Linked DNA regions of Homo sapiens: all the other regions are linked to region 1. The links are contacts of gene promoters, found by promoter capture Hi-C in blood cells and fetal thymus (Javierre and others, 2016). All regions are on one chromosome and are shown on one strand. Each heading gives the region's core, a stretch centred on a gene start or on the middle of the fragment in contact. The rest is flanking DNA. Distances are from core to core; before and after follow the strand shown.

Region 1 (4,104 bases), core at 1,158-3,657:
TGTTCCAGCGCCTCGATGTGGCCCGGACACTCACCGTCTTCTGGCATGCAAACACCTCTCTAACCTCATCCATGTCTAACCCCTTCATGTCCTAAAGTCCAGCAGGCAGGGTCAAGGACTAGGGTGACATTAGGCCAGGCCTGGGAATGCCTGGATCTTGGCCTGCTGTTCACTCATTGTTGCTTTGAGGGTCTAATTGGAGGAGCTCTGTCCCCAAGCTCTAATAGGCAAAAGTAAGAAAAGTAACCCATTGTTAGTAGCTCAGACTAAGCCCAATACCCTTGAATTCATGGTTCTCTTATAAAAACTGAAATGCTGAATATGGCTTAGCAGAGGATAATTGGCAGGAAGCAAGACTTTCCCGCTGTGTCAAGAGATGGGAATAGGCCAAGTCTACAAAGCTGACCTGAATCCATTTGTCCAATTGGTGAGCCTGTCTGGCCTATCCCCAGGGGCCAGACCCTGCCCTCGCCCCAAGCAGTAGATGCAAGAGCAGAGAAGGATGGTCAAGTCTATCTAAGGAGACAGGCTGTATAGAAGTGTTCTGATTGCATGGGAGCAAATTTTAAGAGAAGTACCATGCATGGATAACAATGTTCAAGCCACAGTAACCGCACACTGGTAAACTGTGGTTAAACTTGGTGCAAAAGTAATTGTGGTTTTTGTCATTATTTTCAAATGGGTCTTAAAAAGGAGTGTTGGGGGCCAGGTGCGGTAGCTCATGCCTGTAATCCCAGCTCTTTGGGATGCTGAGGTGGGCAGATCACTTGAGGTCAGGAGTTCGAGACCAGCCTGGCCAACATGGTAAAACCCCATCTCTACTAAAAAATACAAAAGTTAGCTGGGTGTAGTGGTGGGTGCCTATAATCCCAGCTACTCCGGAGGCTGAGGCAGGAGAATTGTTTGAACCCAGGAGGTGGAGGTTGCAGTGTGCTGGAGGTTGCGGTGTGCTGAGATGGCACCACTGCACTCCAGCCGGGGTGACAGAGTGAGACTCTGTCTCAAAAAAAAAAAAAAAAAAAAGATTGCTAGGGGAAGGCTGGAAGCCCAGGGAGGAAGCAGGTGTTCCCTGCCCAGCAGTGATTGCTCCCTGGTTGCTGGAGGAACGATGGAATCAGAGTCACCCGAGGACCAAAGCTCCACACCTCTTGCTATCCCAGACTCTCTGGAACACCAGGAAGAAAACATATTTGGACAAAAATTATTCTTTGCAACATTAGAACTTTTGATTCTGGAATGAGACAAGGAAATATGTATGTATCTCAGAGAGACAATGAATTTTTAAAAGGAAATTGGGACCGTTTCTCAGGGTGAGATGTCTTATCCGGTTAACTGCGAGCCCCCAGGGATTTCTACTCAGAGTGTTCATCACATCAGGTTTCCATTCTCTACAATAAAAACATGGCTAGGGAGAAATTACCCAGCACTGGCAAGAAAGAGCTCCAAAATAGAAGCAGCTTTTGAGGAATTTGGAGGGATAAAACGGAATAGTATGTCTGAAAGTTGGCAACATGTAAAAAGGCTAAAAATGACAATTCTGCCTGTGATACTATGTCTAGTGTGCAACGCTTCATTCAAAAGGCAGGCACGTCTCCCCTCCAGGCGGGAGTGGGAATCTCAGTGGGGAACCGGGAACTGCGTTTGAGCTGATGCAGACTCAGGGTCAACTCGACAAGGGAGCCCGGCACCCAGACACAGCGGCGTTCACCTCACCTTGCACCGTCTTTGTCGGTCTTACAGGCATCAGCTTTCCCAGCCTCATTTGAGCCGGGATCTGAGTTGCATTTCTTTCTGGGTCAGGCCTTGCCATTAGGGAGAGATGAAGTCAACTGATGAGCGTGCCAGCCTTGAGGAAGGACAGAGTGCGGGAAGCAGAGTGTGGGAAGTTGGAAAAAATAATCTGCAAGGTAAACACCTTCAAGTCAATTTCAAGAGGCTGGCTAGAAACCGCCAGGACTTCAGGGGGCCCTGTCTCGCGGGTCTCCCTGCGCCCTCAGCACTTTGGCTTGGTATAAGGCCACCTTGTCCCTGAAGAGAGGCCTATTTTAAGCTGAGCAAGAAAAGGTGAGAAAGACTAAAATCAGCTTTGTGCAGAGACGCCAATTTCTGCTGCACACATGGAAACGATGTGCACATACAGCGAGCTGGCCCAGCTCCCGGCCACGTGGCTCACACTGTCCGTGCTCACCCACCCGTTGCCTTCACCCCCAGCAGCACTGGTTGTGAAAAGGGTAACTGCCTGAGCCACCCCACCACTGCGGGCCTGCCAAGGACAGGCAGGAACTCAGCCATGCCCCGCAAGGAGCCCAGGGGCATCTCCAGGGACGGCTCCCCAGCCTATGGGCTCGCTCCCTGAGAGGCCGTGCTCGGGCTCGCCTGCTCAGCTCACTCCGAAAGCCTCTGCTCAGACCTGCACCCAGTCACAGCAGCACAGATGTGCAGGAGGAGACCATTTCCACGGACCCTCCGACTCCTAGGAGGCAGGTGAGGAGAGGGGGAGGGAGGGGACCAGCGCTGGTGCTTCAGGTATGCTCTGGCCACTGCGATTCACTCTGCTTTGTGCTTGGGGTTTCACACGCATCTCGGCGACTGTGTGCGGAAAGTACAGTCGTGACCATGCGCAGGTGAGGCCTGGAGGAGGTCAGCTAAACTGCTCTCTCTCAATGGTTCTGAACCCTGAGAGTACATCAGAGTCACCTGGAGGACTTACGAAAACACACACTGCAGAATTTCTGACTTGGTCGATGCAGGTTGGGGCCAAAAATGTGTATCTCTAACAGGTTCCTGGGCGATGCTGACGCCGATGCTGTGCGTCCTGAGCCACACTTGGGGAGCTACTGCGCAAGCTCGCACAGCTAGCCGACCGCTGAGCTGGGGCTCAGACCTGGGTCAGTCCTGGTCCACAGGCCAGCCCCTTTCTCACGTCCCCTGGTGAACGGCGGCATGGTGGCCTCATGGACACTGAGCAGGGCCCCTAGGGAAGCCTGTATGGAGGCCACTTCACTTTGAATGGATCTGGGATAGAGGAAGGACGCGAGCTGTGGGAGCCTGGGTCCTGGGCACAGCGGGCATGTCATGGCAGGGTTCACCAGCCTCCTTTCAGCAGTTCCCTAGTTCTGCCCCAGCTACCTGTGGTTGGTGGTGGGAGGTTTATTTGTTAGTTCCTTCAGCAGTGACTCACCACACTTACTGAGAGCTTACCGTGTGCCAGGACTGCCACAGGTATGGGGATGCAGAGTGTCCACAGCCCCCCAGAAGATTGATGATAGCACCCTCCATGTAGGAAGGGCTGTGACTGCAGACAGGGCATGGGGCGGGGCACCTGTGTTTGCCACAACCTCTAGAGGGTCCCTTCATATTCACGTCTGTGCGTGGGGCCCTCCTCCACCCAGATCTGCTTCCGCAGCACAGCCACACAAGTCTACAGCTGGTGACTGTGGCTGGCAAGCAGGGGAAGGTGGGTGGGGGCGGCAGCCGTGGGCTTTCCACTGGGTCCCAGCAGACCAAGTCCTGGTACAAGGAAGCACGGGCTGGCACTGGCAAACCCTCCTCAGGGAGCAGCAGGCCAGGAACCTGGGCTGGGACTAATTATTGCTGAAGAGAGAACAGGGCCAAGTGTCCCTCATGTCCCCCCAGCAGCCGGGGCAAGCAGAGAAAGAAATGTCGGAACCGGGGAGAGGCCCCTGCCTCTGCACAGGGCTAAACATCATGCCAGCTGGCAAGGGAGAAATGGGTACAGGGCCCAGGGGCATTATCACAGAAGAAGGCAATGAAAGGTGCGTTGGGGGCTGAGGCAACCCATTATAACTGCACACATCACACACCAGGGATCCACTAATTTAGACTACAATGTGAATGGTCTTTTGAAACTGAGATGTGTGGGGGCCCAGAGGGAGGGATCCACCCAGCTGGGAGGAGGTTAGGGAGGTCTTCCTTAAAATACTTCCTGTTCCGTCTCAGAGAACCCATGGACACTGGCCAGGGGAGGGAGAGGAAACACGTCGCAGGTGGAGAGAATCGCTTGTGTGAGGGCACAGAGCGGGGCAAGAAGACAGTGGTGGGCTTTCCCCAGGAGCTGTTCGGCAGAGGGAAAGTGGATGCTGA
Region 2 (4,069 bases), core at 804-3,303, 810 kb after region 1:
CTCTCAAGCTTATCTACTCTGAGCCTCCAAAAATTTACTAATTAGCATTTAAGTTCTCCCACCATGATACTGGATTCAGAGGTAGACTTCTGGGCTGCTGCTCTGGTAAGCTGTGATTATCCATATTCACTTGCCTCTCCAATTTAGAGGGTAGCAGTTTTCCCAAAACTTACCCAAAGGGGCTGTAGCCAATTTTGAGAGCTCTCTTTACTGAAGGCATGGAAATTGAAAAAATTTTAAGTTGAGACCCTAATTATTTTAGCTCCACTTTCATTAAATGAACCACTTTCAGTTTAATTAACATTCTTACAATTTGGGAACAGAAAGAGCTCTTAGGTAAAACAAAAATTTCCCTCATCTAGAATTTCGGAAAGTACATTCCATGAACAAGTAGTGCTAGAAGGTGTTTATTAGTGTTCACTGAAAATCCCAGTTCCATGGTCAAGTAACTTTAGTAATGACTGCGTTGAATAAAACCAGATGAATTTTTTTTTTTTTTTTTTTGAGACGGAGTCTCGCTCTGTCGCCCAGACTGGAGTGCAGTGGCGCGATCTCGGCTCACTGCAAGCTCCGCCTCCGGGGTTCAAGCCATTCTCCTGCCTCAGCCTCCCAAGTAGCTGGGACTACAGGCATCCACCACCACGCCCGGCTATTTTGTATTTTTAGTAGAGACGGGGTTTCACTGTGTTAGCCAGGATGGTCTCAATCTCCTGACCTTGTGATCCACCCACCTCGGCCTCCCAAAGTGCTGGGATTACAGGCGTGAGCCACCACGCCCGGCCATGAATTTCTTTACTATAGAATTTCTCCCATCATTTATGTTAATATTCAGTGCTAATCTCTGCGATAGGAAGTAGAGTGCTTTCTGTGTACCTGCTGAGGACTGTTTGTCAAATAATGACCACAAAAGGTGACCACAGAAAGAGCTAGTATTTCCAAGCATACACTTCAGTAAATTTAGCCCTATGTCTATTTGGAATGATTATTTGCTTATGTTTCTAGAGACATAGCAGAGATTTCCGACATCCTACAAATGCAATTCACAAGACATAGCTGTCGCAGAGCCACCAAGATGTCCTTGTTGGGCATGGAACAGGGCACTTCCTGGGCTCTCTGTCAGGCCTCAACTTATCAAGATAATTGTTGGGGTGAGAAAATCAGTTGAGCGACTACTGCCCTGGAGAGAGTTAGGGAAAGAAGGTGGTGAACCAAGAACAAGTCAAATAGAGCCATATAACTGAGGCCAAGTAGGCAGTGACTGAGTCAGCACTGATTTGCCCATTGCAGGGAGTACACAGGGGAAATCAGCTAATCAGAGCTTCCGGGCAACTCATTACCCTTTACAGTGGAAAGCATTTATAATGGAGGCTTCTTCCCTGACTTTAAATAAAGCGTGTCTTGGGAAAATTACTTTCTAAACTGGGCTGTAATGATCCAACTCCCTATTCAATAGATGACTGTGTCGTTTTAACTTCCACAGGTATTAGAATAGCACAATAATATTCGTGTGGGGAAGGCAAATTGTGCAGTCTATAGAGAGGTTAAATGAATGAAGTCAAAATTGTAGAAGTAATAAGGCAATGTGATTCAATAGGAAAATAACTATTATTTTATGAAAATGTATTGTCTGTAGAGATCTTCAAAGGGCTGGAAATGGTCCTGTTATTCCTATTCAGAAGAGAAACTTTAGATCAATAGTACTCTTTATGGCAAAGAAATTGGCCAGTAGAGGAAAGGGTATAGACATTAAAATAGGTTAGACTTGGGTTTTAAATTCCAATCCATTGATTGTCTTTTCCTTAGCATGGAGGCTAGGACCTGCGTCAAGTCATAAAAAGCCATAAATAGTTACAAGGCCTCAAATAACTTTCATCATGCTCTACCTTGATGCATACCTTGGTTCTTCAGCAATATGACTTGGAAACTTTGTTGTTCTCTCAAAGCCTCAATTCCTCCTCTGAAAAATTGGATTAGTCCTACTTAACTCATAGAGTTCAAAGGAGGTAAATTTTAAGTGTACATAAAGTGTCCAGCAAAATTCTCAAGCATACAATAAGTGACAAAAAAGCATTCACTGAGCGAGTTAGTGGCAGGCTAGGCACATTTTACCCTCTTTGGTAAATTACCAACCATCAATGCTGACATTTTCTTTAAAAGGCAATAAAAGGCCTCCATTATCAATCACTCATGTTCCAGGGAAAAGTTATTTAATCTGAGATGGCTGTATAACTTCAGGTAAGCTATTTAACAACTCTGTTCTTGGCCGGGTGCGGTGGTTCACGCCTGTAATCCCAGGACTTTAGGAGGCCAAGGTGGGCAGATCACGAGGTCAGGAGATTGAGACCATCCTGGCTAACACGGTGAAACCCCGTCTCTACTAAAAATACAAATATTAGCCGGGCGTGGTGGCGGGCCCCTGTAGTCCTAGCTACTCGGGAGGCTGAGGCAGGAGAATAGCGTGAACCCGGGAGGCAGAGCTTGCAGTGAGCCGAGATCGCGCCACTGCACTCCAGCCTGGGTGACAGAGCGAGACACCGTCTCAAAAAGAAAGAAAGAAACAAACAAACAAAAAAAATCTCTGTTCTTCTGTCATGTTTCTTTTGAAATAATTCCATCCCATCTTAGTACAAAATCGATTTGGAGTTAGGAGACCTGGAGAGGATACTCAGCTTCCTGAGACTTTAGGCCAAGTTCCTTAACATTTCTGAGTCTGTTTGCTTGTGCATAAAATGCCTATGATACTTGTCCAATTTATTTCATAGTTATGTAGTCAGGAGCAATTGAGATGAAGTATTTGGAAATCCTAAATTAACTTTGTAAAGCAGGCTATATCTCTAGGTTGATTTCAATGTTGTTTCTCCAGCATTGGAAGAAGAGAGTTCACAGGTCTCTACTGTTGGGGGTCCATTAGGGTGCAAAGACTTTGCTTGGGAATTAGGAGATCATGGTTTTCATTCTAACTGTATCTTCCTGTGCTATCTTAGACATTTAATTTTATCTCTTTGTTCTCCATTTAATAAAAAAATTGTTCCCCATATGACAAAAGAAATTCAGGGAGTAGAAGAAAAGAAGATTTGATCTCGACTCTCCATTCTAAAAGTCTAAGAATATTACAATCCTTCTTTTCTGTTGGCATTCTAAAAAATGGAGTCAACATTTGTAGGTCTAACTGGATTCAGTTGTTTATAGAGCGATACCTGCCAGAGGCATATAGTGTAGTTGGATAATCCTGCTGTATTTCTGTAAAATTACCTTTTTCTTTCAGAGGAAACAAAAGCACAGCTTGGTCTCTTTTTTTTGAAAGAACCTTTTGTCTCGCATTCTTGTTGGTCAGATACCAGGTGCCAAGAAGCAAGTGATCCCAAAGGAATTTCACTTTGGCACCACCGAGGACAAAGGGGTCATTTAAAAATTTCACAACCATGGACAGGCTCAGCACCTAGTTTGAAGCATGGAGCCTGATTAATTGGACTGTCATTTCCAACAATTCTGAGCTTTGGCCTTTTCATTTGCCAGAAGGAAAAAGAAAGCAACATTCCTACACTTAATTTTCACAACCTTGAGCCAACAGTATGTGACAAAATCAACCTATTTCTCAACCATGGATTTCTTCTCCCTGTGATGCTTAACCTCACTGGTTCTTTTCAGTTGTCAAATTGAGGTAACATATAAAACTGAAATGTGAATGCAAGAAACCACTCCCATCCACACACTCTCAACATAAAACACACACACTTTTTTATAGCTAGATGCACAGACACGCAAGTACATACTCACACACCACAAAGATACGTCCTTGAGAAAAAAGTTTTTTCAAGAATATGAATATTGTTTGTTACTCTCTGTGGAGTTTTTAGGGGACAGATTTTTTGCATTATGTGTTGTACTTGTCTTATTTCATAACCAACTACTAATAATGATATTATTTAAGATGGTGGTAATAACAGTTGCCATCAATCAAATGCTTATTATATTTGAGGCTTTGTGTTAAGCGCTTTAGTCATAACATTCTTCTCTGAAAGGATATTAGATCAATCTTGTTATTATTATCAGATATCATTGTTATTAT
Region 3 (3,968 bases), core at 235-2,734, 920 kb after region 1:
TCTCTTTCAGTGAAGTGCTAACCTGTCACCCCCAAACACTGTACTCATAGAAAGTAGCATCAGGATCTCTTGAAACAGACTGGAGGCCTGGACCATGCACCACCTGCTCTCTGCATGGCCGCTGTTCTCTCCTCTTGTCTCTTTTCACTGCTTCCTAGTCACCAACAGGGCAGATAATCAATGCAGTCTTCTGGTAGATCAATAGCCAACAATATTTCATTACTGCCGGAATCAGGTTGTTCCAGCAGTCTATTGCCGATTTCCCCCAAGTTAGAACATTTACAGGATGGAGCATGGTTCGTATCCAAGCTCTCCACACAATTGACCTGAAACTCCAAGCCTATGTCAGCCTTTGGGCCTGGGAGTTATAAAGCTGGCCTGTAGAGTAATAGTGGCAAAGGACTCAACATTGTGCAATTGCAGTAAGTTCCACCAGCTGATACTCTATTCTCCTTCAAGGCTCCACTCATGTCACCTAGGAGAGACCTTCTGTTAATCTTCCACTTCAGTTGATATTAATTGATTACTCCTTGAAGCTTACATAACATTTAGTGAATATTTCTGTTTTGAAACACTCCGCTTTTGTGTGTGTGTGTGGGTGTGTGTGTGGCAGAGTCTCGCTCTGTCGCCCAGGCTGGAGTGCAGTGGTGTGAACTTGGCTCACTGCAAGCTCTGCCTCCCAGGTTCATGCCATTCTCCTGCCTCAGCCTCCCCAGAAGCTGGGACTACAGGCGCCCGCCACCACGCCTGGCTAATTTTTTTTGTATTTTTAGTAGAGACGGGGTTTCACCGTTTTAGCTAGGATGGTCTGGATCTCCTGACCTCGTGATCTGTCCGTCTCGGCCTCCCAAAGTGCTGGCATTACAGGTGTGAGCCACCGCGTCCAGCCGGCGAAACATCTCTTATAATGCCTTATAGTAGAGGTATTTACCCAAAGTTCTTTTGCGTTGCTCCCAATGTTAGAATTCTGATGTCCTAAGGAATATGTACATATCATATTTACTTTGTATTATCTCTGGAGTCAGCACTTTGCTTCTCCCTAGGACAATGTTATAGGACAATGGACGGCACATATCCATAGAAAAGCTTCATAAACGCTTGTTGGATGGAATTAATTATCTGAACTAGATGCATAGCTTTTAGCCATATCTAATTCGTTCTGAATTTGGCCAGATTAATCTTCCTAAAACAACACTGTTTTCATGTAATTTCCCTACTAAAAAAAGTTCTGAATATTCCTCACTGCCTAATAGGACTAAGTTTAAACAAGGGGACCTAGTATGTAAGTCAACTTAGCTCATCCCTGTTCTATTTTCCAATGGCCTATTTTACAATTTTCCAGTTGCATCTCCTGCTATCTCTGACGTTCATCCGTTACTGTCCACAGGCTCTGCATGGCCCCTTGAAGGTTCCTTTCATACCTCTGCTTACATTTCTTTATGCTAAAGTTATATTTCTACCTGAAATTCCCTCTCTACTTCTTTGATTCTCAAAGTCCTTACTTTTCTTTAGGGAAGAATGATGAATAGAAAAATACCATTGGATTTTGTAGAAAAGAGATCATTAGTAACACTAAAGATAGAACATGGTATTTCTATGAGGTTGGAGGCAGAAATAAGATTTCTGAAGTGAAGAAAGGAAAGAAAAGTGGGAGCAGAGTGTGTGATTCATTTATGTAGTGGTTTGACAGTAAGAAAAAAGGTGATCAGTAATATGTCTGGTTGAGCTCAGTGGTTACAAAGGCATTTTGTTTGGTTTGGTCATTGATATAGGGATATCCGCAGTGTCGGTGGGAACGATGGAGCAGGAACCTTGAGAGGTAAGAAGATGAAATCTGTTGGAGAAAGAGCCTGAGCATGGTGGTCCTCTCTCCAAAAGCTTAAACCTGAGCATCCCGCTCTTCCACTGTGGTCTCTCCCCTTTCAGCTCTCTGTTCGGCCCCATGATGTCATCGCTGGGGACTCATCAGAGCTCCTCTCCTTGCTCTTACTCATTTCCTTTAACAGTTCCCTCCATCACCCATCAATCCAGTAGTACCAACAATCCCTTTTCCTTCTCTTAAATATTATCCCCACTTGTTCAAGCATCAACCCTGGTGAATCCAAATAATTATCTTTATAATTGTACCATGAAAAAGATGGGATGAAAAAAGGTACAAAATAAAACACGTTGGTTCTAATTTCAATTTATTGTCACCAACCTCAAATAGTCCCTCAGGACTGCCAAAGATCATCCAACATTTTATCAAGTTAGCTCACCTTTCTACCCACTGCAGGATGCTGCAAACTTTCTCCAAATTTTTAAATCCCCTGGCCACTCACTCCCTATCTCCTTCTCTTTCTATACATCCTATGCTCTCATAAGTAATTCTCTTTCTTTAAGATGGAGTCTCACATTTTTTTTAAAAGAAAATAAAAGACAGCAATGGGATCTCCCTCAGCCCCCGATGATAAAACCATTGTCTGTGACCTTCCTCTTCTCTTTCCCGCCTGCTATCAGGAGCTGTAACACCTTCCACCTAAGACCATTGACATGACCTGAGCTTTGGAGCCCAGTCATTGCTGTTCTCTTAGAAGACATCATTCCTTCTTCATCTTCTCTCTTTGGCTTGTTTCTCAATTTGATCATTTCCATCTAATGTTAACCATGTTTATGCTTGAAACTCTCAAAAAAGTTTCTAAGGCTAATAATAACCTGCATGTCCATAAATACAATAGGCATTTTGCAGTTTTCATCTTACCTGACCTCTCATTAGAATTCAGCATGGTTGGTCATAGCCTCTTTCTGAGCTCATTCCTCTTTGGCCTGTAAGACATCATGCTCTCCTGATTCCCTCTTTGGATATTCCTTTTCTGTCTACTTTGCATAATCACCTTCTAATGTCTAATATTGATAATGATGATGAAAATAATAATTAACAAGAAGCAGCCAAAGAAACAACTTATATTTGCTAAGTATTATGTGCCAGACACTCTTCTTAGAGCTTTTAATGTGTTTGTTCATTTAATACTCCCAAAGCCCTGGGGTATATGTTATTAGCTCCATTTTTACTGATGAGGGAATGGCAGTACTAAGAGGTTAAGTTAATTGCTTGAGGCCGCACAGCTACTATAATGAAGGAACTGGAATTCAGACAAAGGCAATCTGGCTTCAGAGTCTTAGCTCTTTATCATGAAATTGCATTGTTTAATATTTTTGGAGTTACTCAGTGTTGAATTTCATAGCACATTCACCTTTATGCCTACAACTTCCCTTACACCTACATACTGATAACTCACAAATTTATATCTCCAGCTTTGACTTCTCCTCCAAGTTCTAGGCTTTACCAACTAATTGCCTATTAGATGTATGCACTCGGAAGACTTAAAAGCTGTCCATGGTAATTTTGATACAACACTGATGATCTCACTCCAGATATTGGTATTCCTTCAGTGTCTTCCCTATCAGCTAATGGTACTGTCATTCATTCAGGTGTTAATGTCAAAAACCTAGTCAACCTCATCCCTCTTATCTCCATGTCTCATATCAGATACCAATATGATTGTTCTCTCCTTGATTAAAATTGTTCAATAATTTTGTATTAATTAATTAAAATAATAAAGTAGAAGAAGAAACAACTAATATTTAATGAGCCTCATCTGACAGCATTCACTGTACTTTAGAAAACTGGCCTTATTTTAACAGGTGAAATGTGCCATGCTCTGCCCTGAACCAGGCCATGTCCCCTCCTCTGTCTCGAATACTCCGTATTTCTTCTAGGTAACTCCTGTTCGACCTTCAGTTCTCAGCTCAAACTCTTCCTTAGAGAAGCCTTTCCCATTTCTCCAAACTAAGGCAGGTCTCTTTATTATACACTAAATTCATTCCTTCTCCTTTAAGGAAGAACACATTTCTTTATTGTAATATTATTTTGTTTTAGTTAATTATTTTATTGAAGTCTATTTTCTAAATAGACTGTGAGCTCCATA
Region 4 (3,962 bases), core at 783-3,282, 940 kb after region 1:
TGTTTAAAGTGATACTAGTAAGAATTTACTGGAAGATTACAGCATATGGACAATATAAAGACTAAGGTTAAAAGTGAAGAGATGGAGAAAATCACATAATGATAACGCTAATCAAAAGAAATCTGGAATAGTTATATTAATTTCAGATGAAGCCAACTTCATAACTAGAAAAACTATCAAGAATGAGAGGCATTTTATACTTATAAAGGGTCAATTATCCAAGAAGATGAACTTAAAAGTTTTACGATGTTTGTATTTAAAAACAGAGCATTAAAATATTTGAAGCAAAAAAAAAATCCCACAAAAAAACAAATAGAATTGACAGGAGAAATAGACAAATCCACTATATAGTTGAAGACTTCAACATTTCTTATTCCATTAACTGATAGATAAGCAAGCAGAAAACCAGTAAGAATATGGTTGGCCTAAATAGCACTATCAATCAACTTGGTCTAATTGACATTTATAGAAATCTCCATAAATAATAGGAACCACACCTTCTCAAGTACACATAGAACATTAATCTAGATAGACCGTACTCTGGGCTAAATCATAAAATATGATGTGACATATTAAAAAACAGAAATCATAGGAAATATGCTCTTAGACCACGATGTAATTAAACTAAAAATTGTTAGCTGCAAGATAGCTGGGAAATCTACAAATATTTGGAAATTTAACAAAAATACTTTAAAATTATGCATGGGTCAAAGAAGTCTCAAGAACAATTTAAAGATATTTTGTACTAAATGAAAATGCAACATACCAAAATCTGTGGAATGCAGAAAAAACAGCTTTTAGAGGAAAATATATAGTCTTAAATGCATACTAGAAGAAATCCAAATAGTATGAAACTAGAGAAGGAGCAATTCAATCCTTAGCAAGATAAAGAATAGGTATAATAACAACTAGAGTAAAAATAATGAAATTGAAAACAGGAAATCAATATAGAAAATCAATGAATCCCAAAGCTGATTCTTTCAAAATATCAATAACATTGATCAACCTCTACCTGAAATGAAAGATGGGACATCACTACTAATCCTGCAAGTATTACAAGGGTAATAATGAAATTTTAGAAACAACTTTATGCACACAAATTTAATGATTTAGATTAAATGGACCAATTTCTTGAATGACTCAATGTATCAAAACTCACACAAGAAGAAACAGGTAATGTAAATGGGTCCATAGCCACTAGAAATATTGAGTCAATTACTAATAACTCTCTGACATAGAAAAAAACAAAATTATTCTAAAACTAAAGCTCTGGTAATTCTGACAATGTTTAACCAAAAAATGATATCAATTCTCAACAATCTCTGCCATGTTAGAGGCAGAGAAAATACTTCCTAACTTATTATATGAGGTCAGTATTACCCTAATATGAAAATGAATGAAGACATTATCAGAAAAGAAAACCACATGCCAATGTCAGTTAATATAGATGCAAAAATTCTCAACAAAATATTAGCAAATTAGATCCAACAATGTATAAAAAGAATTATATATAGGCCATAACAAATGGAATTCATTCAAAGTGTACAAGACTGGTTCAGCATTTGAAAAAGAATAAATGTAAGCCACACATCAACTAGCTAAAGAAGAAAAATGATAACATCATATCAAATGAACACTTTTCCCCTAAGACAAGGATCAAAGCAAGGATGTACACCTCTCCACCTACATTCATTATCATACTAAAACTCCTAGTTAATACAATAAAACCAAAAAAAGAAAATGAAAATAAAGATCTACCAATTAGGAAGAAAGAACCAAAATTATCCTTATTCACATTTTATATGGTTGCCTATGAAGAAAATACCAAAGTAGTCACACTCCTGGATCTAACAAATATGCATAGTAAGGTTGCAGAATGCAAGGTTAATGTACAAAAGTCAATTGATTTCCTATATACCTGCAATTAACAGTTGGAATTTGATTTTTTTAAAGTACCATTTATAATAAAACCAAAATCATAAAACACTTACGTATAAATCTAACAATATATTTATAGGGTTTATATATAGAAAATTACAAAACTCTCATGAAACAATCAATGAAGTTCTAAATAAATGGAGAGACAGCTTATACGCATGAATTGGAAGACTCAGTGTAAAGATGTCAATATTTTCCAACTTTATCTTAATATTTAACAAAATCCCAGTCAAAATTCCAGCAGCCTATTTGTGGATATCAATAGATTCAGTATAAAATTTATGTACAAAGTCACGAGATCAAGAATAGCCAACGTGGTACTAAAGAAGAACAAAGTTGAAGGATTCACATAAACCATTTACAAGACTTACTATAAAGCTACACTAATCAAGACAGCGTGGTATTTACTAGAGAAACAACGACATGTAGATTAATGGGACAGAATAGAAAGCCCATAAAAAGACTCACATAAATACAGTCAACTGATCTTCAAGAAAGGCACAAGGGCAATTCAATGCAGAGAGGATAGTCTTTCATCAAACTGTTCTGGGACAATTAGGCATTCACATGTTAAAAAAAAAATTGACCTAGGCACAGACTTTACCCCTTTTGTTAAAAAATGAACTCAAAATAAATCTCAGACCTAAAGGTGAAATAAAAATTATAAAACTTCTAGAAAAAAAAAATAAACAGAAGAAAATTTAAGTGACCTTAGTTTTGGCAATGAGTTTTTAGATATAACACCAAGACCGTAATCCATGGAAGAATAAAATTGATAGTTGGCTTTTATCAAAATTAAAAACTTCTACTGGAGAAAAGATGCTACTAAAAAAATGAAAAGAAAACCATAGACTGGAGGACAATATTAACCAAACACATATTTGATAAAAGACTTGTATTCAAAATATACTAATAACTCTCTTTAAAACTCAATAAAAAGTAAACCAATTAAAAATTCCAGAAAGGTCTCACTAGCACTTCCGAAAGAAAATATACAGGTGACAAATATGCATATAAAAAGAAGCACAACATTATTTGCCATTAGGGAATTGCAAATTAAAACAATGAGATGCCAGCATATGTTATTAAAATGGCTAAAATTCAGGGCAAAAAGCCTGATAATACCAATTACTGGCAAGAATATAGAGAAACAGGAACTCTCATTTATTAATGGTGGGAATGCAAATGGTACAACTTTAGAATCTGGTATGGCAGTTTATTTCAAAAGTAAACGTAGTCTTGCCACAATCTCCAACAATCACACGCCTAGAAATTTACACAACTGATTTGAAAACTTATGTGTACACAAAAACCTGCATGAGACTGTTTATGGCAGCGTTATTCACAATCTACAAGAAAACAGGGCAACCAAGTTATTTTTCAATAGGTGAATGAATAAACAAACCGTGGTACGTCTACACAATGGGATATTATTATTTAGGGTAAAAAGAGATGAGCTAACAGGCCATGAAAACAAATGCATGAATCTTAAATGGATATTTATAAGTGAAAGAAGCCAGTCTGAAAAAGCTACCTACTGTAAAACTCTAATTCTATGACATTTTGGAAAAGGCAAAACTAAAGAAACATTAAAATAAATACATAAGTAAATAAAGAAAAATATGGGTACCAGGAGAGTGGAGATGCACAGTTGAATAGATGAAGCATCGGGAATTATTTTTAGGGAGGTGAAACTATTCTGTAGTTATTGGAATGGTGGCTATGTGACACTATGCATTTGTCAGCATCATAGAACTTTGCAGCACAGGGCTCACTCAGTGTATGCACATTTTAAAAACTTGATTTAAAAGGTCGGAGGTCTCAGGATAGAATGCCGAATTTGACAAAACAATCTAATTGTATTACAAATATACAGAACAACTCATTGAAGGAGATGAGGGTTAAAAATACTGACTTATGTGACTAAAAATAAATGGTATTGCGGAGCGCGGTGGCTCACGCCTGTAATCCCAGCACTTTGGGAGGCCGAGGCGGGCAGATCACGAGGTCAGGAGATAGAGACC
Region 5 (3,614 bases), core at 162-2,661, 910 kb after region 1:
CCTCTCTGCTAAAAATACAAAAAAATTAGCTGGGTGTGGTGGCCTGCACCTGTGATTCCAGCTACTCGGGGGGCTGAGGCAAAAGAATTGCTTTAACCCGAGATGGAGGCTGCAGTGAGCCGAGATTGTGCCACCGTACCCCAGCATGGGCGACAGAGCGAGACTCCGTCCCAAAAAGGAAGAAAAGAAGGAAGGAAGGAAGGAAGAAAAGAAGGAAGGAAGGAAGGAAGGAAGGAAGGAAGGAAGGAAGGAAGGAAGGAAGGAAGGAAGGAAGGAAAGAAGGAAGGGGAATTGGAATTTTTTTCCTCCTGGAAATGCTTTCCTCTCATGGTGTCTATTGGATTCCTTCTCTCGTTTGTCTTAGTTCATTCCTGGCTGTTCTTTGTTCCTGACTTCTCTTCTTTTGCGTGCAACCGAGACATTCTTTGGAGTTCCACGCTTGACTTTTCCTCTACCTGCAGGTCCCCCAGCTTCACTGGCAATGCTTACTGGAGCCTTCCAGAACTCATTCCCACACCCAGGGCCCCTTAGCTCGAGGTGTGCCATCTGCACCCTGGAGGCTTCTCAAACTTATTACACCTGAGAACACACTCGGTAGCTTCTTCCTATTTCTTCTGACAAATGATGTTGCTGTCACACCTGGGCCAGAAATCTGGACACCAGCCCTGCCTTCACCCCATGCTAACCCTGCATATGCCCTGGCCAGCATCAGGCTGTTGATTCTGCATTCGTATCTTCTCTATGTCACAGACCAGAGTCATTGGCTACAAGGTACAGAAACTTTCTCAAGGCAGATGAGGTAAGGGGAGCTTGTTGTAAAACCATGGCAGACAATTCCATGGGCACCCAAGGGAATGACAGACTCAGCAAGCCATAATGAGGGCTGTGACTGGAACTGGAAATTCAAGAGCCAAGGATGTTCTCTCTATCACTCAAGAGCCCCAGAATCTCTTTCTTTGCTCCTGATTCCTTTCTATTTCAAGAGAAATCATGTCCTGTCTGAAGCTGTCTCTGAGTCCAGGGATCCACGGATATGGAGCACTGGACACGTGAGCCTGTGGCTCAGCCTGCTCCTGACTTGCCTCAGGGCCTATCAGGTTACACTCTCATCCTACTCCTGCATGTCTGCCTTGCCCACCACATTCTCCAAAGACTGTGAGCTCTGTGAGGGCTGTGATTGTGTCTCACTCATCTTTGTATTCCCCAGAAGTCATCACATTCCCTGGCACATAGTGACATGCAATAATGCTTGCTGACTGGACATCTGTCTCTACACAGACAGTGCACACATTTGCCATAACCTCAGTACAGACCACGTCATCTCTGAATGACTGCGAGAGTCTCAAGTTCATCTCTGGTTTCTACTACTTGCCCCCTGTTTGGACTGACCTGTTTCCCTTTGTCCATGTGAGTGTATCCTCTGCAGAATGGCTGGAGTGACTATGGTGAAACTCAGGTCAGACAATGGCATGTCTCTGCTCAAAATCTTCCCGTGGCTTCCCATCTTGCACTGATGCCAAATTCTTACAGGTGTGAAAAGCACTGTAGGATCCGACCCTGCACTGCCTCCTGCAACTCCTCCTAACACTGCCCAGTCACTGGGCTCCAGCCACAGCAGCCCCTCACTGTCCCCCATCACAGCCTTCTAGGACGCACTTGACCCACCCTTTGCCTGGAAGCCTCAGGCAGAGATCTTCACGGCTGCTCTTTCACATCCTCTAGGTCTCCGGTCACATATCAGTTTATCACAAAGGTCTGCACCCCAAACCCTCTATATAAGGAAATACGCCCATTGAGGTACCTCTATGCCCCTTTTTTTGCTTTGATCTTTCATGTAGCATTTTCAAAATGAGCACCTATTATATCTTTTGTACTAATGTTATGCTGTGTGTCTCACATCTCTTGAATATCTGTTCCTTAAAGTGACAGACTTTTAAACTGTTCACCGATATATCTCAATACCTAAAATAGTGCTTGACACAGTTGATTCCGAAAAAATGTTTTTTGAAATGAGTGCATAAGTCATTGGAAAGATATTTATAATGCTGTTTTTATTTGCTTTTCTCCAGTTTTAACCTGCTCTGTGACTTTATGTTTCTGCTACCGTAAATCTATTATTTGTTGCCAAATCGGCCACACATCCTCTGGTTTTATTGTGTGGTGGTGGCAGGCGGGTGGGGGGGCAATCTTTGTTTTAAGGTTTAAATTAAAGTGTAGTGCACTTCTATCCCAAGGAGAAGAAAAAGATCATATAGAGATGAATGGAAATTAGAGGTATGAGTGGTATATTAGTCAGGGTTCTCTAGAGGGACAGAATTTACAGGATAGATGTATACATAAAGGGGAGTTCATTAAGGAGTATTAACTCACACGATCACAAGGTGAGGTCCCACAGTAGGCTGTCTGCAAGCTGTGGAGCAAGGACACCAGTCAGAGTCTCAAAGCTGAACTTGGAGTTCGATGTTTGAGGGCAGGAAGCATCCAGCACGGGAGAAAGATGTAGGCTGGGAGGCTAAGCCAGTCTAATTTTTTCACATTCTTCTGCCTGCTTTATACTAGCTGTGCTGGCAGCTGATTAGATGGTGCCCACCAAGATTGACAGTGGGTCTGCCTCTCCCAGTGCACTGACTCAAATGCTCATCTCCTGTGGCAGCACCCTCACAGACACACCTAGAAACAGTACTTTGCACCCTTCAATCCAATCAAGTTGACATTCAATATTCACCATCACAAGTGGTCAACCATGCTGTCTAAACCCTGTGTATGTATGTGTGCCTGCTCCCGTGTGCATACAGAAGTGTGTGTGTAGGAATGCACATGGCGTGTATGTGTGTAGACACTTCTGTAGCACTGTCCCTGCATGTGCAGGTGCATATGCAATTATTCCCAACACTGTCCATTGAGAGGGCCGAGAAGGAGAGACAGCCTAGGAGCAATGAGGGTGCTTAGTGTTCAAATCTGTCTCTGTATGAAAAGGAAACAAGAATCCTCGGGGTGATGGCAGAGAAAGTAGGAACAAGATGTGCCAGGAATATCGTGTTGTGCCGGAAGTTAAGGAAGTGCTTAAAAACATAATGGGGGCATGTCGCAGAGACACAAGAGCCAGCCCAGAAGGAATCCCATTGGCCAAATCTGAGACATTTTGAGCATCATAATTATTAAATTCAGTAGTTAACGATAAACCTTTGAAAACCTAGGAATGTCTAAGTCCATACAGCTAATAAATAGATAAATAAAGGGTAGCAGGAGGACTCTTGATTGCAGTAGAATGCTGGGTGCTGCCTAGTAAATATGGAGGGAAAGCTGAGGACAGAAAACCATTATGTGCAAACTTTATGATAAAGACTGGGTCAGAAATGAACAGACAATGGGTGCTAGATTTGGGGGATGTTTTAAAGAAGAGCAAGACATCCTCGTGATTTTAAATATCTCCTTACAGATTGCTTATTGTTGCAAGAGGGGAAAAAAGCAGTGATTCCACAGTGGTGAAATCAAGCACCTCAGGCAGGTGATCAAAATTAATATCATCAGTGAGGGACAGTTGATCTAATATGTCTCCAGGTACTTTGAAAAGTACTCAATATCGTCTATGAGGTATGTGGGGTGAAAATGCA
Region 6 (3,844 bases), core at 477-2,976, 840 kb after region 1:
TGGCAGCAATGCCTGACTTTAACCCATCAGATTATTAAGAGGATGATATTCACAATCTTTCTTATACCCATCAACAAACCAATCAATACAAGCTAATTATTCATTAGTGTAAATACAAACACTATGTATTGATAATCAATTCTGTTGGTACTGCCTCTGTCAGCTTGCGCCAAAGTACTGCAGTGGGAAAGCTCAGTTGTGTTAAGTCTGCTTCAAAGGGAGCTTGACCTCACCAGTGAATCTAGAAATGATCTATCGTTAGAAATAGGGAGTCGCTACATTCACTAAGTACAATTTGCCTATCCCTCACACACATGAAGACTGTCCTCTCTATTCCCATTTTGCTCTAGTTTCTATCTTTGCTGTTTACTTCAAGGATCAAAGCCTACGGCTGGGATTTTGACAAAGTGCCCCTCTTATGGAGTGTTTTCTTTGCATATGGAGTGGTCTCTAACAGCTTTTTTTTTTTTTTTTTTTAGCCGTGCTTCAGGACTTGGTCCCTTCTCTCTGTCACTCTCTCCACTTATGCACAAGATACCATCCACTCTTTCCTCCCGAAAAAATTTCATCCCAAGTTAAAAGTATACTTTTTCCGTTCCCTTGGATAATTCCACCAGCACACAGGGTAATAGTTTCCATCTTAAACACAAAAAGATCCCCTCTTAATCCCTGTACAGCTTCACAACCTCTCACTTCCACCTCATTTCTCTTCCCACTTCACACCAAACAAACTTCAAATGATTTGTCCATAGTCATTGTCATCACCTTGAAATGCTTTCCCTTCCAACCCATCTGAATCAAGATTTTTTCCAACCACTGCATTGAAACCATTTTTGTCAAAGTCACGAAAGACATTCATCTCACTAAATCCAGTCAACCATTCTCTCTTCATCTTACTCAATTTTCATACAGCATTTGACATGAGACTACCCCATCCTCCAAGCACTTTCTTCATTTGACTTTAGAACAACCCACTCCCCGGTTTTTTCTCTTACCTGGTTGCTTATTTCTTCCAGTTCTTCTTTGCTGAATCCCCTTCTCTCTCTGACTTCTAAATGCTGGCATCCCCTGAGATCAGTCCTTACCCTGCTGTTCTTTAGCTACATTTTTGCTTTCACCCAGCAACCTTATTTTAAATATTAATTATCTATGTGGTGATGTCTCCCAGAAATATAGCTTTATCCCTAAACTCTTATAAATTCAAACTTGAAAATTTACTTGCCTACTTGACAGTTTTACTTGGCTGTCAAGTACATTAAACTCATGTAACAAAAACAAAACTTACAAAACTTTTATTTTTTTCTTTCTAAACTTGCTTCTTTCTCTATTGTTTCTAAATGAATAAGTATTATCATCATTCACCCAATGATTCAGGCCAAAAGCTTTCATTCTCTAAATCTAATCCTTCAGCAAGTTCTGTCAGTTCTGTCTTCAAAATGTATTCTGAATCCAGGACCTTCTCTGCACCTGCACAGCTGTATCTCTAGCCCAGCCTGCTGCAGCCTCTCACCTGGTCTCTGACCAGGCTACACCTATCTCACTCAGTCCTATCTGGTCTACCTGACACTGCTTTTGACTTCCCACAGACCCTTTTTCACACAGCAGACATAATTATCCTTTATAAATAAATATGATATCAAGTTTCCTGCATAACATTCTCCAATGACTTTTCTTTGTATCTTAAATACAAACTCCTGACTGAGGGCCTAGAAGATACTATGTGACCTGCCCCTCACCTATACGTCCAATCACTCTCTCTGTTTATTATGTTCTAGCTGTATTCGCTTGCTTGCTTCTTCTTGCGTGTCCCAAACCTATTCCCATTCCACAGCCTTTACACTTGCTGTTCCTTGCCTGGTATACTCAACCCAAATTGCCCGGTGACTAGATTCTCATCCTTCAGAATTCTCTCCAGATTCTTTCTTCCAACTTATTTAACTCTAGTTCCTCATGCTATGATTTTCTGTATTACCTTGCTTCGTACTGTAATTCATCTCTATCACCATCTGAAATTATATATAGTCAAACTATTTTTAATGGACTGTCATCTTCTTTAGAATATAAGCTTCAAGAGCATTATGCAACATGCAGAATTAAAATGATTTCTTCTCACAGGACTCCTGATAACTCTAAAGTGGTCATTTAAATCTTTAAGATGTGAGTCCCAAAGCCCTCTTGCTCTGGGGAGAACAGTTTCCTTCACCTTAGTGCTATTCAGATAGAAATTGGCCACGATATTAACCTCTGACTGTTATTTTTGAATAGCACAATGGAGTGAGATGAGCTGGGTCTAAACTCTCCCCAGGACAAATATTTTTCAACCCAATGAAAGATTTATATTTTTATTTATTTTGATGTGCAGTGAAATATCTTTCTCCCTTACCTTACTTCTTGAAAAAGAATGAAGCACTGTTGCTTTGAAAAGTTGACAGACTATTCTAATCAGTCATCCTCAGGTTTGGATTTGAAGGTAAATTGGTCAAGAGTAAAGGTCCAGAACATGTTTCCTGAAGCTACTATAAGTCAAACTCTAATCCTAACCACAGATAAATAAATGGTTTAAACCAAATAGCTCAGAGGTTAAATTGTACCCTGAAAAATATGCTTTGAGCTTCCAGGAGACTCAAAAAATATGAACCTTTTTCCAAGTTACTAAATCAAACACTTGGCCCACTGATTTTTAAAAAAGTAAAACCAGCATAAACTAAACTATATTACCCTTGTAATGGGACTGTGATAGGAAAAATTATAAGTATCTTCAAGAAAACTCTAGAACTTTAGATGCTACAGATAGTGCTGGTAAGCAAATAATACCTATTTCACAAGGCAAAAATCTTTCAAATTACATTCTATTAAAATTCATAATTTTGATTGCTCTGCTAAACTTTGCAGAGTTGGCTCTGGCTTAAATATTAAGAATTAGGAAAGGAGGTAACAGGAGAAGAAGCTAAAAGCCAAAGACATCCCGTTCTCATAATGTGTTGCTGGAAATGGCATTGCATTTAGTTTTACCTTGGGTTATATGGGGAAGTCCTTGTTATTACTGATCTCCACTTCATTTCAAATAGGGCAATTTTCAAATGGACTCTCTAAGTGTAGGTTTTCTGAAGTGATTCTTTTGTAACACTTTTATTTCTGGAGGCACTCTGCAAAACCTACAAAAAATTTTGAAAATTATTTCCTGCAAAAAATTTGAAAACAAAATCTATTTTACTTTTTTTCTTTTTGCCCTATAGCACAGATCCAACAACTAAAATACATTTCTGAAAACCAAATAATGATTAGGAAATAAGGAAAAATTGGAAGATAGGGCATATTGTCCACTATTATCCCCATACATTATCATGTTCCTGTCACGTAAGACACTTAATAATGTTTTGTTGAATAAAACATGAATACTTATACATATGCTCCCCAAGAATAAGTAACATAATTCTTAAAAAAGGCAGGGATAAGTCAGTAGTTAAGTCATTTTTACTTCCAGTTCTGTCATACATTTACATTAAAGCCTTGATCAAAGTACACATTTTTAAAACGTTAAATTACTCCTTTAGAAAACTGTATACATTCATATAATTATTAATTTAATAAATTTGTCTAGAACACCTTACATGACATATACATAGGATATAAAGATGGAACAGACCTTTCTTCCCTGAAGGAGCTCATGTCTAGAGAGAAAAAGAAAGAAAAAATCAAGTATATTGATTGACAAGAGAGTGCAATGGCGCTGGAAGAGGTCTAAAAGTACCCTAGTTGGATGTCAGAGCCATTCTGGAAAATCACAGTGGGCTTCCTAGACAAAGTGATGTCCAAGTAAAGTATGAAGGACAAATAGGCACTA
Region 7 (4,083 bases), core at 884-3,383, 790 kb after region 1:
CCATGGTATATCTACTGTTGAAGAAGGATACTTGTAAACTAATCAATCATCTGCCAAAAAAAAAAAAAAACCTTTCCTTATCTAGTGCTCAAAAGAGAGCACATGGAATAGATTGTGTGTTCCCTCTAGAATTTGTAAAGTAAGAAATGAGCAAATACATTCCAAAAATACGCAATAGAATAAGTCAGTGGTAAAAGAGAAATACATCTCAGATCTTCTGATTCCTAATCCACTGACGGAGGAGAAAACACTGTTCTTGTGATGGCGTCTTCCTTGACGATAAATAATTTAACACTTTTAAAGTAATTTGAAATGTTAGAAGAAAAACAGAATTGGTTTAAAGTTTAGAGATTAAAATGAACATACACTAACAAACTGCATCTCAGCTTTCCATATATGCTTATCTTTTTGTACTCTGACAAAGCTATTAACTCACAAATTAATTAACCAACTAAACAAAGTCAATATAAAAATAAAGGGACAACGGTCCCAGAAGGTTAAAATGCAAGGTACTTGCACAGCAAAATTGCCAGCAAATACCACTCCTTTTTCTTGAATTCACAGAAAAACAAATCTGAAACTAAGTTAGAAAGCAATTGGTCAGTCAGCCAATAACCAGGATACCAGGCCTGGGACCTCCTATAGAGTCATGCCATTTCAGAAAGGGGTAGGATCTATGACAAGCAACAAACAAGAAGGAGAAGTGAGCCAGCAGACCATAAAGGGTGATTTCACTCCATCTCAGTTTATATTCTGATGATTACGTTCTGGGCAACATCAATTTCTTCCTACTCACCTGCTGGAGGAGATAAACATCATGGCCTGACACATACTCTACCTTTTCAACCATGACTAATCTAAACAGAAACATTCACAAAAGTCCAACCACTTAAGAGGTGTTTGTTGAGGGCATATATTGGGATTTAAGGGTATACAAATATGTGTGCGATATAATCTCTGTTGACTGGTAATTTACACTCCATTTGGGTCAACACCAGTTCCTGAGAACTTAAGCAGTAGTAAAGAAAGGGACCACTATGCAAAGGGGGTTATAAAGGATGTTAATGATGACAACAAAGACCACAACAGGTTGAAAATACATGGATTTAGAGGAGGGTACCTGTGGGCTACAGGGTTTGAGAAGACTCCTAAAAGCATTCTGAGTTGGGTGTTGAAGGTTAGGTAGGAGTTGGCTGGCAAGAATAAAATCCAGTTGTAGGAGTTAATAGAAAAAACTAAAATGTCAGTTGCAAGAAATGCCATGCATGGAGATGAAAAGGTAACATTTCTGGAGCCAGTGGTTCAGACATACATGCTGATGGCTAAATGTGTCTGGGGAGCCTCACTCTTAACTCGATTGGTTTGCTGGTTAGCTGCAGAAATTTGCACTTATTCCTTACTGCCTCTCTTTTATTTATTGTTCTAATCACTGGGCATAATAGGAGCCAGGTCATCGGAGGATGGTGCTGTGACAGCATAATGGGCTCTGGCTTTGAAAATAACATCTCAGTTTCTCCAAGGCCCCTTCTTTGGCAGCAGGAGACCATTAGCTTGTCATTGTCCAGCCCTATTGACATTATCTTTTAATTGCCCCCAAAGACCCATCTCCGAGGCAACATGTGTCTGAGATTTTCGGAGCATTGGAGATTTTGGACTGACATCCCAATCCATTTTATCATTTAACTTCAGAAATTCTAAGGGGAGAAAATGATTAAAGAGTTTAAAAAACTAAGAAGAACATTATGGGAAGATGTACGGAAGGCTGTATTCATGACAACAATTAAAGCCAAAGTAAAGTGGCAAGGAAAGCAAGTTATTCTGCAAGAATTCTAGGAACAGATGTGCATGTCTATATGTAAAGACAAGTACACTGTGTTAAATAGAATATTCAAGACCAAAATCAAATGTCTGAACTGAGTATTTTTGTAATTTTGTATAGGGCATAATGAGAGAAGCGGATGTTGCCAAGTCCTGAGAATATTTGCTGTGCCCCCAACTTTTCCTCGGAGACAGATATCTATGTCTGGGTGGTCTTTTCTGTGGCTCCATTGTTTCTGTCAAGTGTCTAAAGTGTTATTATGCCCAGGAAGATGGCCAGCTGCTTTCTATGTACCCTATGGACAAAATAAAGTAAATAGGCTGAAACAGTGTGATGAGTGTAGGTGAGACATGAAAAAGCAGTTTTGGACCATGCAGCATTTGAAATCTAACAGTCAAAGAAAAGGGACATTTCACTTTGTTAACAGCTGGTGCTGGTCTGGGAAGGTGTAGGTGTAGTCTGGTTGGGACCCTTCCGGGGGTGTGTGAAGGCTGCAAGAGGGAGGGGATAGAGTTTCCGGGCAGTCTAGGCAGCGGTGGGATGCGCTGTCTCTGGATTAGTGACAGAAGGAATCGATGCTGCTGTCAGGGTCTCAAGTCCAGGATGGGAGATGGAATCCCATCCCATGGAGAGGGACTCAACGTCTTTGAAGGTCCTTTCTCTCTAGCTTCAGGCTTCATCACCTTAGCGGCTGTGAGCTTCCCCTGGAAGTCATTGGAAGGAAAATGGACTTTGCATAAATATGTCTTTGTCCATGTGCAGTCTTTGGGCGCACGTCAACAAGGGCAGCAAGGCAGCCATTTTGCAATATGCCCTCCTCCTTGCCTGGCTCTGCCCATGTTTCCAGCTCACAATAATATCCTGGCTGCCGGCCCCTGATGAAAGCCTCTCCGGGCCTTTCCTGCAGCCTGCCTTCTTTCCCTGTTGCCCCTCCTCTCTTTGACATTCCAGAATCCTCTCCTTCCTGTTATTGTCCTGCTCATTTCTGATAAGATTATGTTTGTCCCTATGAAGAGGAATTTTTCTTTCCTGTACATTAATGTTTTTCAAAGACACACTAATGAAAAAGATCTCTATCCTAATGCCAGATAATTTATACTAAGTGTTGAGGGATCTGAGAGAGGAATAGGAGGCCCCAAGAGATGGGGAACCCAGATTCTCCTTTAATCACTTGTGAAACACTTGACGGCCTATCACCAACCTTCTGATTCTGATTTCCAAATGCAGTTTTGTTTTGGCTACAGAGCAAGGAATTGTATTTTACAAGCTGGAGTTCACAGTTCAGCTGCACAGAAGGAGTCAGAAGATGTGAGTTCCAGCACTAACCCTGCATTTGCATTTATTTGCTTACAGAAGGTTTGTGGGCCATATCTAGCCTCGGTGCCCTCATTGTAAAATGGGGACATTATTACCTACCTACCTTAGGGTTCTTGTGAGGGTTAGTGAAATACCATATCAACCATGCTTCATAAACTGGAAATATAAATAAAAGGTAGTTTGATCACCTAAACATATATAAATTGTGACTCAAGATGAGTTGCATGAACTCTAGGAAATAGGCCCCATAAAGAGTGTTAGAAAGTTTAGGCGCTGTCTTCATCCTCATAGTCGGCTTCCAGCCTGTTTGAGCTCTGCCAAATGGAAAATGGACCAGAGTGATCATTTTATAGATGACAAAATTGAGACCCAGAAAGGGAAAAAGAATTATTCACATTGGTATTTCCTTCTTTTCTTTTCTCTCTCTTTTCTTTCTTTCTTTCCCTTTTCTTTTTTCATTTTTCTTTTCTTTTTCTTTTACTTTATTCCTTCCCTCCTTCCTCCCTCTCTCCCTCCTTCCCTCCCCTCCCTCCTTCCCTCCTTCCTCCCTCTCTCCCTCCTTCCCTCCCCTCCCTCCTTCCCTCCTTCCTCCCTTCGTCCCTCCCTCTTTCCCTCCCTCCCTCGCTTCCTTCCTTCATTCTTTCCTTCCTTCCTTCCTTTGCTCTGTTTTTTTCTTTCCATAGGAATGTATATATTTTAGGTGAACAACATGATGTTTTGATAAACATATACAAAGCAAAATGATCTACAGCGAAGCAAATCAACATATCCATCACCTTCCATAGTTACTTTTTTGTGTAGTAAGAACACCTAAAATCTGTTCTCTGAATAAATTTTCAGTATACAATATAATATTATTAACTATAGTCTTCATGCTGTGTATTAGATCTATAGACTTAACAGCAAAACCAGCACAAGAATTCAGCCAAGATTTGAAATACCTGGGT

The links. The method cuts DNA at HindIII sites, captures the fragments that hold promoters and counts their contacts. A CHiCAGO score of 5 or more calls a contact.
Region 2: a contact is called between a fragment that was not itself captured here and the fragment with the promoter of TP53AIP1 in region 1, in 6 of 17 cell types (naive B cells, total B cells, total CD4 T cells and 3 more). The highest score is 12.8, in naive B cells.
Region 3: a fragment that was not itself captured here is called in contact with the fragment with the promoter of TP53AIP1 in region 1 in 8 of 17 cell types (total CD4 T cells, activated CD4 T cells, total CD8 T cells and 5 more); the score reaches 8.2 in total CD4 T cells.
Region 4: a fragment that was not itself captured here is called in contact with the fragment with the promoter of TP53AIP1 in region 1 in 5 of 17 cell types (naive CD8 T cells, activated CD4 T cells, naive CD4 T cells and 2 more); the score reaches 12.5 in naive CD8 T cells.
Region 5: a fragment that was not itself captured here is called in contact with the fragment with the promoter of TP53AIP1 in region 1 in 3 of 17 cell types (naive B cells, total B cells and M2 macrophages); the score reaches 5.9 in naive B cells.
Region 6: a fragment that was not itself captured here is called in contact with the fragment with the promoter of TP53AIP1 in region 1 in 5 of 17 cell types (activated CD4 T cells, naive B cells, non-activated CD4 T cells and 2 more); the score reaches 7.2 in activated CD4 T cells.
Region 7: a fragment that was not itself captured here is called in contact with the fragment with the promoter of TP53AIP1 in region 1 in 5 of 17 cell types (total B cells, naive B cells, non-activated CD4 T cells and 2 more); the score reaches 13.5 in total B cells.

The regions. Positions count from the first base shown.
Region 1 is chr11:128,941,174-128,945,277 of GRCh38, reverse strand. TP53AIP1 (tumor protein p53 regulated apoptosis inducing protein 1) reads left to right here and starts at 2,407. Exons shown (of 4, transcript NM_022112.3): 1 at 2,407-2,484. RefSeq lists an enhancer at 4,064-4,104. The HindIII fragment of the contact is 8,104 bases long and covers 1-4,104 here.
Region 2 is chr11:128,135,006-128,139,074 of GRCh38, reverse strand. All of the region lies in intron 2 of LINC02725 (long intergenic non-protein coding RNA 2725), which reads right to left. Among named protein-coding and RNA genes, the nearest start is that of LINC02725, 41 kb to the right of the region's middle. The HindIII fragment of the contact is 4,086 bases long and covers 11-4,069 here.
Region 3 is chr11:128,016,851-128,020,818 of GRCh38, reverse strand. No RefSeq gene overlaps it. Among named protein-coding and RNA genes, the nearest start is that of LINC02725, 77 kb to the left of the region's middle. RefSeq lists a silencer at 621-819. The HindIII fragment of the contact is 792 bases long and covers 1,089-1,880 here.
Region 4 is chr11:127,999,215-128,003,176 of GRCh38, reverse strand. No RefSeq gene overlaps it. Among named protein-coding and RNA genes, the nearest start is that of LINC02725, 95 kb to the left of the region's middle. The HindIII fragment of the contact is 5,201 bases long and covers 1-3,962 here.
Region 5 is chr11:128,034,345-128,037,958 of GRCh38, reverse strand. No RefSeq gene overlaps it. Among named protein-coding and RNA genes, the nearest start is that of LINC02725, 60 kb to the left of the region's middle. The HindIII fragment of the contact is 6,153 bases long and covers 1-3,614 here.
Region 6 is chr11:128,100,553-128,104,396 of GRCh38, reverse strand. LINC02725 (long intergenic non-protein coding RNA 2725) reads right to left here. Exons shown (of 6, transcript NR_183639.1): 2 at 3,013-3,155. Among named protein-coding and RNA genes, the nearest start is that of LINC02725, 6.7 kb to the right of the region's middle. The HindIII fragment of the contact is 683 bases long and covers 1,385-2,067 here.
Region 7 is chr11:128,152,500-128,156,582 of GRCh38, reverse strand. The region is part of intron 2 of LINC02725 (long intergenic non-protein coding RNA 2725); the gene reads right to left. Among named protein-coding and RNA genes, the nearest start is that of LINC02098, 54 kb to the left of the region's middle. The HindIII fragment of the contact is 5,358 bases long and covers 1-4,083 here.